Regions from separate parts of the Homo sapiens genome. Here region 1 is linked to region 2. The links are contacts of gene promoters, found by promoter capture Hi-C in blood cells and fetal thymus (Javierre and others, 2016). All regions are on one chromosome and are shown on one strand. The core of a region is centred on a gene start or on the middle of the fragment in contact, and the rest is flanking DNA. Distances in the headings are between cores, read along the strand shown.

What was found. Contacts are between HindIII fragments. The CHiCAGO score rates a contact against its expected background, and 5 or more counts as called.
Region 1: a fragment that was not itself captured here is called in contact with the fragment with the promoter of TMOD2 in region 2 in 6 of 17 cell types (M1 macrophages, neutrophils, M2 macrophages and 3 more); the score reaches 7.1 in M1 macrophages.

The regions. Positions count from the first base shown.
Region 1 is chr15:51,665,871-51,672,410 of GRCh38, reverse strand. No RefSeq gene overlaps it. Among named protein-coding and RNA genes, the nearest start is that of SCG3, 12 kb to the left of the region's middle. RefSeq lists a cis regulatory region at 1-210. The HindIII fragment of the contact is 7,589 bases long and covers 1,162-6,540 here.
Region 2 is chr15:51,748,097-51,754,026 of GRCh38, reverse strand. TMOD2 (tropomodulin 2) reads right to left here and starts at 2,430. Exons shown (of 10, transcript NM_014548.4): 1 at 2,315-2,430. It also overlaps a transcript of LYSMD2 not described here. RefSeq lists silencers at 2,017-2,076, 2,107-2,216, 2,267-2,696 and an enhancer at 2,807-2,876. The HindIII fragment of the contact is 6,757 bases long and covers 1-2,994 here.

The sequences.
Region 1 (6,540 bases), core at 3,707-6,206, 84 kb after region 2:
GCCTGTGTGAAAGTCCTCAGCTCTTCCCAAAAGAGAGGATGGGTTGTTGACTCATGGAGGGGGCGGGGTGGGGGCAGGGAAGAGAAACCAGCAGTTCCTTTTTCTCTGCTGCTCCTGTGGCCTGTCTGACCTTCTTTCTTTCTACTCTCCCTAGCTCCCTGAGCTCCAGGCACACTGGCCTCTGCTGCTGCTGACATGGCCAGACCCACCCTTACGTTGGAGCCTTGACTGTGACCCTCTTGTCTACATGGTTTATTTCCTCACCTTCCCCAAGCCTTAGCTCAAATGTCACCTTCTCAGTGATGGGCTTTTTAAAATTGCACCCTCTTTCTCCACTCCTGTACTCCAAACCCCATGACCTTGTTCTACTTTTTAATTATTCCTTGCCACTTGTCTCGTTCAAGCATGCTATATAATTTATTTATCCATCTATTTATTATTATATAATTTATTTATCTAATAATATAATGTATTGATCCATCTATTCTGAGTGCCTATAGTAGTGCCTGGCATGTAAATAGTCATGGAAAAAGTTGAAAGAATAAATGGAGTTGAGTCCTGTGTTTCTCAGTATCTATACATTCAAGATTTCTTCCAAGTCAGTCTTGGTTTTAATTACATTACTATCAGTCTCTCTCTGCTTCCCTTCCTCTTGCCGTATACCTCCATCCCTCCAGTTCATACTTTAAAGCAACCAGGGTGATCTTTAAAAAATGAGTCTGATCAAAGATAAGTGTGGAGTTTAGGCAAAGCAACATGGGAAGTTTTATCCCCCTATGCCCAGTCACAGCAGGGAGCCATTACCACCCAAAGCCTGAGCCTGGTGTGAGAACTGACAGGACCTGCAGCCTTCAGTAGAGGATGCAGCCAGCAGGAGACAACCCATCAGAAAGGCAGCCAAGGAAATAAATCTCCTGACTCCACTCTCCTCCCTTCCTCTCATTTCCTACAAGTGCCCCCCAGTGACTGAACTCAACCAGAAACTAGAGGACAAGGGTGCCATTGAGGCAACCCTTAGAAGTCAGCCTTCTTGGGCACAGGGCAAGGTGGACAGTGGAAGTTAGGAGAAGGAGAACATGGAAGATACCCACTTTTTCTCTTCTATCATGTTGCTCTGGTCCCAAGGCCACCCTTCATATCACTCCCAAAATATGACAAGCTTTGTCCCAACTCAGGACTTTTGCACCTGCTCTTCTTTCTGCTTATAGCTTGCCTTTACAAAATTAGCTCCTCATCCTGTCCTTACTCAATTATCTTCTATTACATCACCCTATTTCTTTCTTTCTTGGTATTTATGACAACATTTAATAAATTTGCTTCATGGTCCATCTCCTCCTCTAGACTATGCAAGCTCTTTGAGGCCAGGAACCTTGTCTATCTCATATTCCAACACGTGGAACAGAGTCTGGCATGGAGTAGGTGCTCAATAAACATTTTTTGAGTGAATGAACACATAAATGAATAAGCAAGAAAGTTTTAAAAGAAAATGAAGGTGAGCTGGCTGGCCAGATATTAAATTATAAAGCTAAAGTAACTAAAACAATTTGGCCCCAGCACAGGGATAGAAAAAAACAGTCCAGAAATAGAACCACTGTCATAGCTTTCTAACTAGTTTCCCTGCAATATGGTGGTTTAGTACACTGTACAAGTGGCATTTAAAATCAATCTGTTTTGTGCTGCTATAACAGAATACCTGAGACTGGATAAGTTATAAACAATAGGAGTTTATTTGCCTCATGGTTCTGGAGCTGGGAAGTCCAAGATCAAGGGGTCACACCTGGTGAGGGCCTTCTTGTTGCGTCATAACATGGTGGAAGGCATCACATGCAAGACAGTGTGCAAGAGAGTTGAACTCACTTTTACAACAAACCCATTCCCACGATAAGGACATTAGTCCATTAATCCCATTAATTCCAGGGTTAGGCTCTGTCCTCATGACATAATCACTTCTTAAAGGTCCCACTTCACAACACTGTTGCACTGGTGATTAAGTTTTCAACACATGAACATTGGAGGGCACATTTAAATGATGTTTGTATGATTAGCTAACAATTTTTTATTAAAATGTTTGGGAGGCCAAGGTGGGTGGATTGCTTGAGCCCAGGATTTTGACACCAGCCTGGACAACACAGTGAAACCCCATCGCTACAAAAAATAAAACATTAGCCAGATGTGGTGGCATGAATCTGTAATCTCCGCTACTAGGGAGGCTGAGGTGATAGGATCACCTGAGTCTAGGGAGATCAAGGTTGCAGTGAGCCATGATTGTGTCACAGCATTCCAGCCTGGGCGGCAGAGTGAGACCCTGTCTAAAAGAAAACAAAAAAGAAAAAGAAAAATGAATGTATTCCTCACACCTTCATTGAAATAAATTGTATACAGATCAAACATGTAAAGTGAAAACATGAAAAAAAATGTGTGAATACTTTTACAGTCTTTTTGTTTGTGTGCTTTTTTGAGACAGGGTCTCACTCTGTTACCCAGGCTGGAGTGCAGTGACATGATTATGGCTCACTGTAGCCTTGATGTCTCAGGCTCAAGCAATCCTCCCATCTTAGCCTCTTGAGTAGCTGGGACTGCAGATGTGAGCCAACATGCCCAGCTAATTTTTTAATTTTTCGCAGAGACAGGGCATCCCTACATTAACCAGGCTTGTCTCAAACCCCTGGGCTCAAGAGATCTTCCTGACTTGGTCTCCCAAAGTGCTGGGATTACAGGCATAAGCCACTATGCTCAGCCTACTTTCATAATCTTGAGAAGAAAAACACTATCCTAAACATTACAGATAGAAAACATAAAGGGCTGGGTGCTGTGACTCATACCTGTAATCCCAGAACTTTAGAAGCCAAGGTGGGAGGATCACTCGAGGCCAGGACAATATAGCCTGGACAATAAGCCAGACCCTGTCTCTACAAAAAATAAATATATTAACAGGGCATGGTAGTGCATGCCTGTAGTCCTAGCTACTCCACAGAGGGTAAAGAGGGAGGATCCCTTGAGCTCGGAAGTTGAAACTGCAGTGAACTGTGATTATGTCACTGCACTCCTGTCTGGGAGATAGAGTAAGACCTTGCCTTAAAAGAAAGAAAGAAAGAAAGAAAAGTAAACATAAAGAAAAAGAATGATAAGATATCTAAAATTCATGTTTTAAAAAATTACAAAAGTGTTATAAGTTTGAAAAACCAGGAAAATACCTGCAAAACTTAATTTCCATAATATATAAAAAGCTCATATAAATCAACGATAAAATGGAAACACTCTAAAAGAAAAATAGGAAAAGGACACAAACAGAAATTCAAAAATAGGAAGAAAATTCATTAAGTTATAAAATGTTCATTTTACAATGAATATAAAATATCATTTTTGAATTTTCAAATTAGCAACAATTGAAAATATTGACAACACTAAATGTTGACCAGTATATTAGTTTCTTACTGCTTCTGAAACAAACTACCCCAAATTTAGGGGCTTAAGATGACAAAAATTTATTATCTTATGGTTTTGTAGGTCAGAATTCCAATACTTGTTTCACTGGGCTGAAATCAAGGCGTCGGAAAGGTTGCCTTCCTTCTGGAGACAGTAGGGGAGACTCTAAAGAAACTCCGTTTCCTTGCTTTTCCCAGCTCCCAGCAGCTGCCGCATTCATTGCTCATGGCCCCTTCCTCCATCTTCAAGGCCAGCGAGTTTGCTTCTCCCTCTGACCTTTCTTCAGTGGTCACATCTCCCTCTGACAACAGCCTGAAAAGGTTCTCTCCTTTAAGGACCCATGTGATTAGGCTGGGCCTACCCAGATAATCCAGGATAATCTTCTCATCATGAGGATGTGATCATCCTCATGACTTAATCACATCTGTAGAGTCCCTTTTGTCGTAGAAGGTAACATACAGGTTCCACATATTAAGACAAGAACATCTTTGGGGGTGGGATGAGGTGGAAGAAGATGTATAATTCGGCTTACCACAGCCAAGGTGAGGGAAAAAAAGGGACATTTCATTTAGTTTTCCTGATAAATCTTACTTTAAGAATGTGCTCTAAGGCAGAATAACCCAAATTGTGTTCTTCAGAACTTTATATAAATTTTCCTCTTAGGAACACAGGAATATTAGAAGATTCGCATTACACATTAGCATCATAAAGTTTATGAGGTCCACAATTTAAAAAACAAAACAAAAATAGTTTTTAACATTTCCTAAACTTCTTTAGCCATGGAATCTACTTTCTTGCATAACATTGGTTAACATTCAATTACTAAAAGTTATAATATAATTGAACTTTACATTCATATGTATAAATACAATACATACTATACATATATAATTATAACAAAGGGTTGTGTTCCTATTTTGTCTCCACAACTAGCTCAGTCTTTGAAAAGAACACTCAGAAAGAAATATTGCAAATAATAAATATGTGAGTGGTCAAAAACTTATGAAAAATAACACCCAATGAGTAATAAGAGAAGCACAATGTTTCAAAGGAAGAAACTATTAGTTTTCTTTCAAATTTAGGAAAGGTTTTTGAAAAGATAAATGCTAGATTTGGCAAGGATATGGAAGAACGTGTCCTTAAGTATATCGTTCTGGTGAGAGAGCAATTGGCATAAGCCTTTTGGAAAGCAGGTGGGTTATATAAATCAAAAGCCTAAAAATACATATGCCAGATGCCTGAGATGAAAAGATATGTACCCCTTGGTTTAGCAGTTTCATTTCTGAAGTGATCAGCGGTAGAAAAGAATGAGCTACTGCCACATGCAACAACAGGAATACATCTCGCACACATAATGACGAGTGAAAGAAGCCAGACACAAAAGAACACGTGTTTTTGTTTATATGAAGTTCAAGAATGGGCTAATTTATCTATGGTGGTAGAAGTCAGAATGGTGATTATTCTGGGTCTGGGGGTAAGTATTGGTAGGGAAGGGACATGAAGGAGCCTTCTAGGGTACTGGAAATAGTAAATATCTTGATCTGAGTGTAATTACATGGCTGTATACGTATTTAAAAATTCCTCAAGCTGTAATTAGGTCCTCTATTGTGTGTATATTATATCTGAATTTAAAAAAAACTAACATATATATATATATATATGAAGACCCAAGGCCATGTTTAAAGTGATCCTCGATTAGCAAAGTCAAGACAATTTTAGCATTAAAATAATGACTGTAGTGACTGAGGATATCTGAGAGTAATACTTTGGACAAATAAAAATCCATGAATCCATAATGGATACTCAAAAAAAACAAAAAACAAAAAAACGGTAGGGGCTGGGGAGTAATCCTTCTTCTTTACAGAAGAATGCAAGCTAACAAATCAGAAAAGAATTCTAGAACTAGAAAATCATCACTTTACAACCTCATATTACAAGAATTATCAATGACCGCTTAAACCATTAGGTGAAAAATGATTGGGGAACAGAGTAGTCACAAGATTTCAAAATATCACCCCACAGATTACTTGCTAATTGCAAACAGAAAATACGCCTTGCAACGGAGTGACTTAGTAGGCATCATTTTAATTTGGTGACCAAATTCAGCATCAGTCACTGGCATCAACTCAACATTATGTGCCTCTTGATGTGTTGTGAGGTTAAGTACACAAGCATCACTATCAGCTGTTATATGCTGCCTAAGATGCTAATTTCTCTGGTATGGAATAGAACCTGGACGCTGACGTTGGAAGTCTTCACAAGCTCCCCAGAAGAACTTAGTATGCAGTTAAATTAGAGACAGAACCATTAATTTAAATATTTGCAAGGTACATATTGAGTACCTCTATAAATTATTTTGTAATTGCATACTAGAGTCCTATTGAAATGAGCTGAGGGAAAAAACACAAGTGCGATGGAAGACTACCTTCCTGATTTTGGTAAGCAGCCAAGTAATCTTTTTCAAAGACCCTTTCCCTTCTTTTTGCACTATCATAAATTTTTAAAGAATATGTGTCTTTAAAATATGCCATAGTAAGAAATTACAAGTCAATGGGAAAAAAGGTTTCTACAGATCAAAGGTAGTTAAGTGCTACTTAAGGATATTTTGGCTGAGCGCAATGGCTTGCGCCTGTAATCCCGGCACTTTGGGAGCCCAAGGTGGGCGGATCACTTGAGGCCAGGAGTTCAAGACCAGCCTGGCTAACATGGTGAAACCCCCACTCTACTAAAAATACAAAAAATTAGCTGGGCGCGATGGCGGATCCCTGTCATCCCAGCTACTTGGTAGGCTGAGGCAGGAGAATCACTTAAACCCAGGAGCCGGAGGTTGCAGTGAGCAGAGATCGCACCACTACACTCCAGCCTGGGCAACAGTGCACAACTCTATCTCAAAAGAAAAAAAAACGATATTTGATATAATATTTTAATTTTAAAACTGTGTATTTTGAAAGTAGAATGGTGTTTGCCAGAGGATGATGGGAGGAGAAAATAGGGAGTTATTGTTTAATGGGTATGGAGTTTCAGTTTTACAAGATGAAAAGAGTTATGGAGATGGTTGGTGGTTATGGTTGCACAACATTATGAATGTATTTAATGCCACTGACCAGTGCACTT
Region 2 (5,930 bases), core at 1,181-3,680:
AATTTTGGGAAGGTGAAGCCAAGAAATTCCCCACAGATTCACTGCAGCTGTTTGTCACGAACCACCCCCGTCTTCTACAACACTTTCTCTTTATTCGCTTATTTATTTTATTGACTTCCCCATTTCTTAAAGTTCAAATCTATAGAAAAGTTAAAAGAATAGTACAATAAACATTTGTTTTCTTCTTGATTCACCAACCGTCATCATTCTGCCACATTTGCTACGTTCCTGAACTTGTTCTGCTACCCCTATCCTTTTTTTTTTTTTTCTGACACAGCTGAAAGTTGCAGATGTCATGACACTTCACCTCCAATATCCACATCTCCAAAGAATAAGGATTGTCTGGTCTAGGTAACCACAAGAATGAACTATTATTGCACCTAAGAAAATTAACACCAATTCCATAATATCATCTAACATGCAATCCATATTCAAACATCCCCAACTATCTCCAAATTGTCTTTTATAGCTTTTTTTTTTGCATCTAGGATTCAAAGTTCACACATCCCAATTCACTATTGTATCACTTGAGTATTTTAACCTACAATAGTTGCTCCCATTTGCTCTGCCCCATCGCCAAGTCTTTTTGCAGGAACACTACAGAGGTGAAATTATGCCTCCTTATTGCTTCACAACGGGAGACTCGCAGTAGATGCTGCTAAACTTGGTCATTTGGTTCCAGTGGTGACCTCCTAATTTCTCCATTGTAAGGACAAATTTTCCCAGAGTAAACTGTGGTGAGATACTTTGAAATAATATGAAAATCCTATTCCCCAACCACCTTTCACTCAAAGGTTTTGGACCAGTTGGTAAGTCCTTGCCTTATTCAACTGTTATGTTAGGTTTGCAGAGCGCCGAGTTCCTGATTCTCTCATTCCTTCTATTGCATATTTCTTTTTCAAACAATGATCCATCAGTACGCAACTTCTCTTTTCTGTGTATACACATTCTGGTTACTTCTTGCTGGGGCTTCCTCCCCGACCTCCATGCTGACCACATTTGACCACTCGTGCCCAGCCCTAGGGAGCCACTAATCCTTTATCTGCTGATCCCATCACTTCACCTTCAGCAAATTAAAGACAAAAACAAACCCCATCATTTTGTTGCCCACCAATGTACAGTACCTTACAAAAATTAAAATGATTGCAATGCGTATTTATTGGGTTAGACTGAAGAGAGTCGATCGAGAAAATCAGTTTTATCTTTAAAAAAAAATCAGATTGCTGAAGCTCTGAAAAATCTTTCCTCCTCACTAGGGTAGAGGCGCTTGTTGTCACAATTAGGCTTTTTGTAGTGCTGTTAAACAGAAACACTCTCATCTTTTCAGTTCCCTGAGAGGGGAGAATCTTGGAAGAACAGAGGTTTACAAATCATTTAGCCCAAACGCCCCTTTACATGCAGAGGCCCAGAGAGGTGGAGGGACTTGCCCAGGTCCCTCAGCTCCTGAATGGTCAAGCTAAGAGGAGAACCTGGTTTTTAAAACACCTCCCCCGATCTTCTTTTCATTCCCGTCCTAAATGCCTCGTGATTCAGATATGTAATGGGCACAGACGAAGCTGCAGTAAGCACGGCCTCCTTCACTGCTAATTTGCATTGTGACGGCATCACCTTCCTACCTCTGAATACTCTAAAAATTCCCATTAGAAGCCTTTTATTACTGTTTTAAAAATCCACCTTCATTTCCGCAGGTCAACAGGGAACATTTAGGAAGCCTCAAGGGAGCACATACTACAATTACTTTAACCAGAAAAGTAATAACAATAATAATAAGGTTCTCGAGGATCCGCACGAGGCCGCTTACTGGGAGGCTGAAACGCCCTGCGAGTGACAGCTCCAGCGATCTCAGGAAAGACGCCGGCCAGTCCACCCCTCCCCATCGCCTGCTGAACGAGGCAGGGAGATGCATACCGCTCCAGGAGCTCACCAAACATGCACAGGAAGGGGAAAAGTGGGGGAACAAAGCCCGGAGTGGAAGAACACAGCCCCGCAGCCCGGGAGGACAGGAGACCGCGCCCTCCCCGCTGCGGCCCAGCGGGCTGCAGAGGCTGCGGCACCGCAGTGCGGGGCGCGGGACTCACACCCCGGCGGGCGCCTCCCGCCCGGGCGCAGCGCCTGGTCTCCCGGCGCAGCCGACCGGGCCGGGAGGCGAGAGGCGAGAGGCGGCCCGGCTCTGCACGCCCGCCCGGCCGACCGCCCATGTCGCGGAGCATCCTCCCGCGGGCAGGGAGGGCACGGCGGCCACCGCGCTGCGGGCCCGGGGGCTGCAGACACCGGCTGTCCAGAACAGGCCCCACCCGCCCCCCGGGGCGCTCACCCGTCCGTGCGCTCATCCCGGAGCCGGCTGTGCTGGCCGTCAGTCCGTCAGCCCCGGTGGAGCGGGGCCGGGAGAACAGGGGCGGCGCCGTGGCCGGGGCGAGCGCGGCGATCAACAGGCGGCTCCCGGCCGGGCGCGGCGCCGGGGCGCGCGGCTGCAGCGGAGCAGGCTGGGAAGCGTAGTTCCCGGCTGAGCCTCGCCGCGGCCCCGCAGTCCCCCAGCCCCGCCCTTCCCCGACAGGTGTCCTCTCCCGGAATCGGGGTCTGAACCCCGCCACAGCTCTGCAGGGGAGGAAGCACCTGGGTCGGGGAGAAGCCTGGGCAGGCTCTTTGGAGACGCTCGGGGCTCCGGAGAGCGTGGATGGCAAAGGCTTTCAAGCCTGTGATGAGCATTCCTGTGAGCGAGCATCCTGACACGGAAGCCGCGTTGAGAGCGGTCTCAGGTACAGACCCCGCCCGCCCCAGGTTTTCCTGGCTGGGCGTGGGCGTGGGAGGAGAGAGTAGTTGGGTTGGCAGCCTAGGGAGGGAAGGAGGTAAGCGAGGTGGAAGTTAGCAAGGCTCTAGGGTGATGGCGTGAGGGGCTGGAGAGCCCAAGCGCAGTGGCGGCTTCACTGAGGTGAGACCGGACAACTTAGCCTGTCTGAGCCTTCGCGTCCTCATCTGTAAAACAGGCTTCAAGCTTGAAAAAGTGTTGTGAGGATTAAGCGACCCATAGCACTTAGGATCTGGCACTTAGTGCATACTCAGTGAAAGTTCCTTCCTTGGGGTTTCCGAGGGAGTTCTTGGGCCGGGAAAGTCCTATATGTCGTGCTAACCTAAAGATAGTTGGACCTCGTTGGGCTGGGTAAATGTTAAAATCCACTGGGTTTGTTAGTCGTTGAGCCCGTTCACTTCATCCCTGAATATACCCTGAGATGTTCTGTCTGCCAGGTTCTTGAGAGCTCCAAAGATAGAGAAAATAAAGTCAAGTTTCTGAAGCATGACAGCAGAGTGGGGTGACATAGGACAAAGACCAACATTATGAAAATACATGGCATCTAGATTTAACTTCCAGAGGCCTTTTCTAATTAGATGTGATATCTCTCTCCTTCTTGAACTTTTGCAGCATATTTTGAGCATAACCTTTGCTTATGGGACTTATCTTGGCAGTCTAAGGTTCGTTGAGTTTTGCAAGTTGCTGCTATGCAGTGTTTCACATGATGGTGGGATTTGCATTCACAGATGTAGTGGAGGAAAATGAACCAAAGGGATGGATGCAGCATGGCTGGTGTAATCTCTATATGAAATTTTAGGCAAAATGTGAAAAGAGGTGAAACAGCTTTATAGTCTGTCTGGCACGAGGTGTGCAGTAATCGTGTGGCCAAAAAAACGTGCTGCAGAGGAAATTCCACATCTGAAAATGATAACACTGGTTTGCATTTATGAAAATACTTTCCTATTTGTGTTCTCATTTGATTTTTACAAGAACCCTTGTGAGACAGGCAGAGTGAAGGTATTTTTCCCCAATGATAGTTAATAAGAGGCACAGAGAGGTGATGTGACTTATTCAAGGTCATAGGGGTGTTCAGTAAGCCTGTCTTCTCTCCTTCCACTGTGGGCACCCCCAGCACTGTCTCCCTTTTGCACATTGCAAAATAGGGCCATACCTTCCCCAGCAGATGGGTTGAACCAGAAAGTAAAGTTAATCCTCTAAAACTCTGGGAACTAGCATGATGAACACTGGCACGCAGTGGCTGCTGACTGAGAGACCAGTGTTGTTTCTATGATCAATTGTGGTAATGGACTATATCTTGGGCCTCCTGTCAGAATGACAAATCTGAGCCAGAAAGAGTTAAATGAAATGGGGGTGTGACCAAATTACTTTAAGTCATGTTCCCAAGTTTTCCTGTACATTTGTTATTCCGAATGTCCTGTGTAACCGACAGGATGCCTTTGACTTTTTTATGTTGTACATTTGTTACAGTCATAGCCTTCTGTTAAATAAGAACAGGGCTGCTTACGGATCGAGCCAGCAGTTTTCCCAGAGAAAGCTGATAGTAGGCATATGCTGAAAATAATAAAGCAATTTCATTCATATTGGAAGAAAGAGTAGCAAAGGTGCTCAGTAGTGTACAGTATTTCTCTTTGGTTTCCCGTGGTTCTGCACGAGGAAAATGGCTGCATGTGATAAAACGAATAGAGTATTCCTTCAGAAACTAGCCATGAAAGGAAGCAGACAGGGGAATGATTTAAGTTAAAGTCATGTTCGGCAGTCGAAGCAGAGATACAAGAGCTATCCTACAGCCCCAGAGCCATGCTCCAGGAGGATGCTGACACCAAAATAAAGTGAGTTGTGAAAAGAAACTTCTGATCAGTCTCTGTCTGTATGATGAGTGTTGGAAGCTGGAAGGTGTTAAAGGATGAGTGAGGGAAGTAGAACATTTAACCTAATGTTAAAACTTAATGGAAAGATATTACCAGTTCCAGTCTGTTTAGCTCTTTAAATCTATTGCCTATGTCTTATCTTAAGGAAGAAAGGATGTCAATATGCCTATGACTTATCAGTTGAAACCCATGATCATTTCTGGACCATATCTTGTAAGTTTAACTTTTCTACTTGCTTTTTAGAAGATGAAAATGTAAAATTGAAACAGAACTCCTGGAGCTGGAAGGGACCTTACATATCATTTTGTGTAGCCATTTCTTCCTGTAAATGAGGAAGCTGATATATTGACTGTAATTGTCAAATGGCAGAAAGGAAAAAAGTTCAACGTGGCAGTTATAATGAAGTATTTTAATTATTCACAGTGGAATATGTAGCACACCTCATTAGGAACAGGTAGTAGACACTGTTGGTTGTCTATTAAACATTCAGTCCACCCTCTTCTTCTTTATAGAAGCCTATATGGGTGTTTACACATTAGGAAAGGTGACCCTATTAGCCTCTGAGAGGTACACTCTCAAATCTATCATAGACAAGAGGAATAGAATCCTCTTAACTGGCCTGTAAGAGTTTAGGAGTGGACATGTGACCCAGTTCTGGCCATTGTAAAGAGATACGATGAATCTGGGTCGGCCATATTGTTGTTGAGTCAGTCATCAACCAGCCCCAGTGCTGCCCTTCTTCTGGATTTCTTGTTATATGAGATAATAAATAACCTTATTGTTGAGTCAATTTGAGATGGAGTTTTCTGTTACTTGAAGCTGAAAGCATCCTAAGTGTTAAAGATGAAATGTGAAAGTACATTCTTTGGATGGACTGAAAGACTGCTTCCTAGAGTTGATTAAAAACAACCACCACAAACCACAGGCAATGTGATGGGATATTATCATATAACAGATAACAACATGGGTTTTAACATCAGAGAGTTTGAACCCAGATATTTACTGGCACAATGACTATGGCCAAGTTTCTGTAACCTCCCTTAAGCCTCATTTTCTTCATCTTTTTTTTTTTTTTTTTTTTTTTTTTTGAGACGGAGTCTTGTTCTGTCACCAGGCTGGAGTGCAGTGGTGCGATCTTGGCTCACTGCAACCTCTGGGTTCAAGCGATTCCCCTGCCTCAGCCTCCTGAGTAGCTGGGACTACAGGTGCTGCCACTACACCCGCCTAATTCTTTGTATTTTAGTAGAGACGGG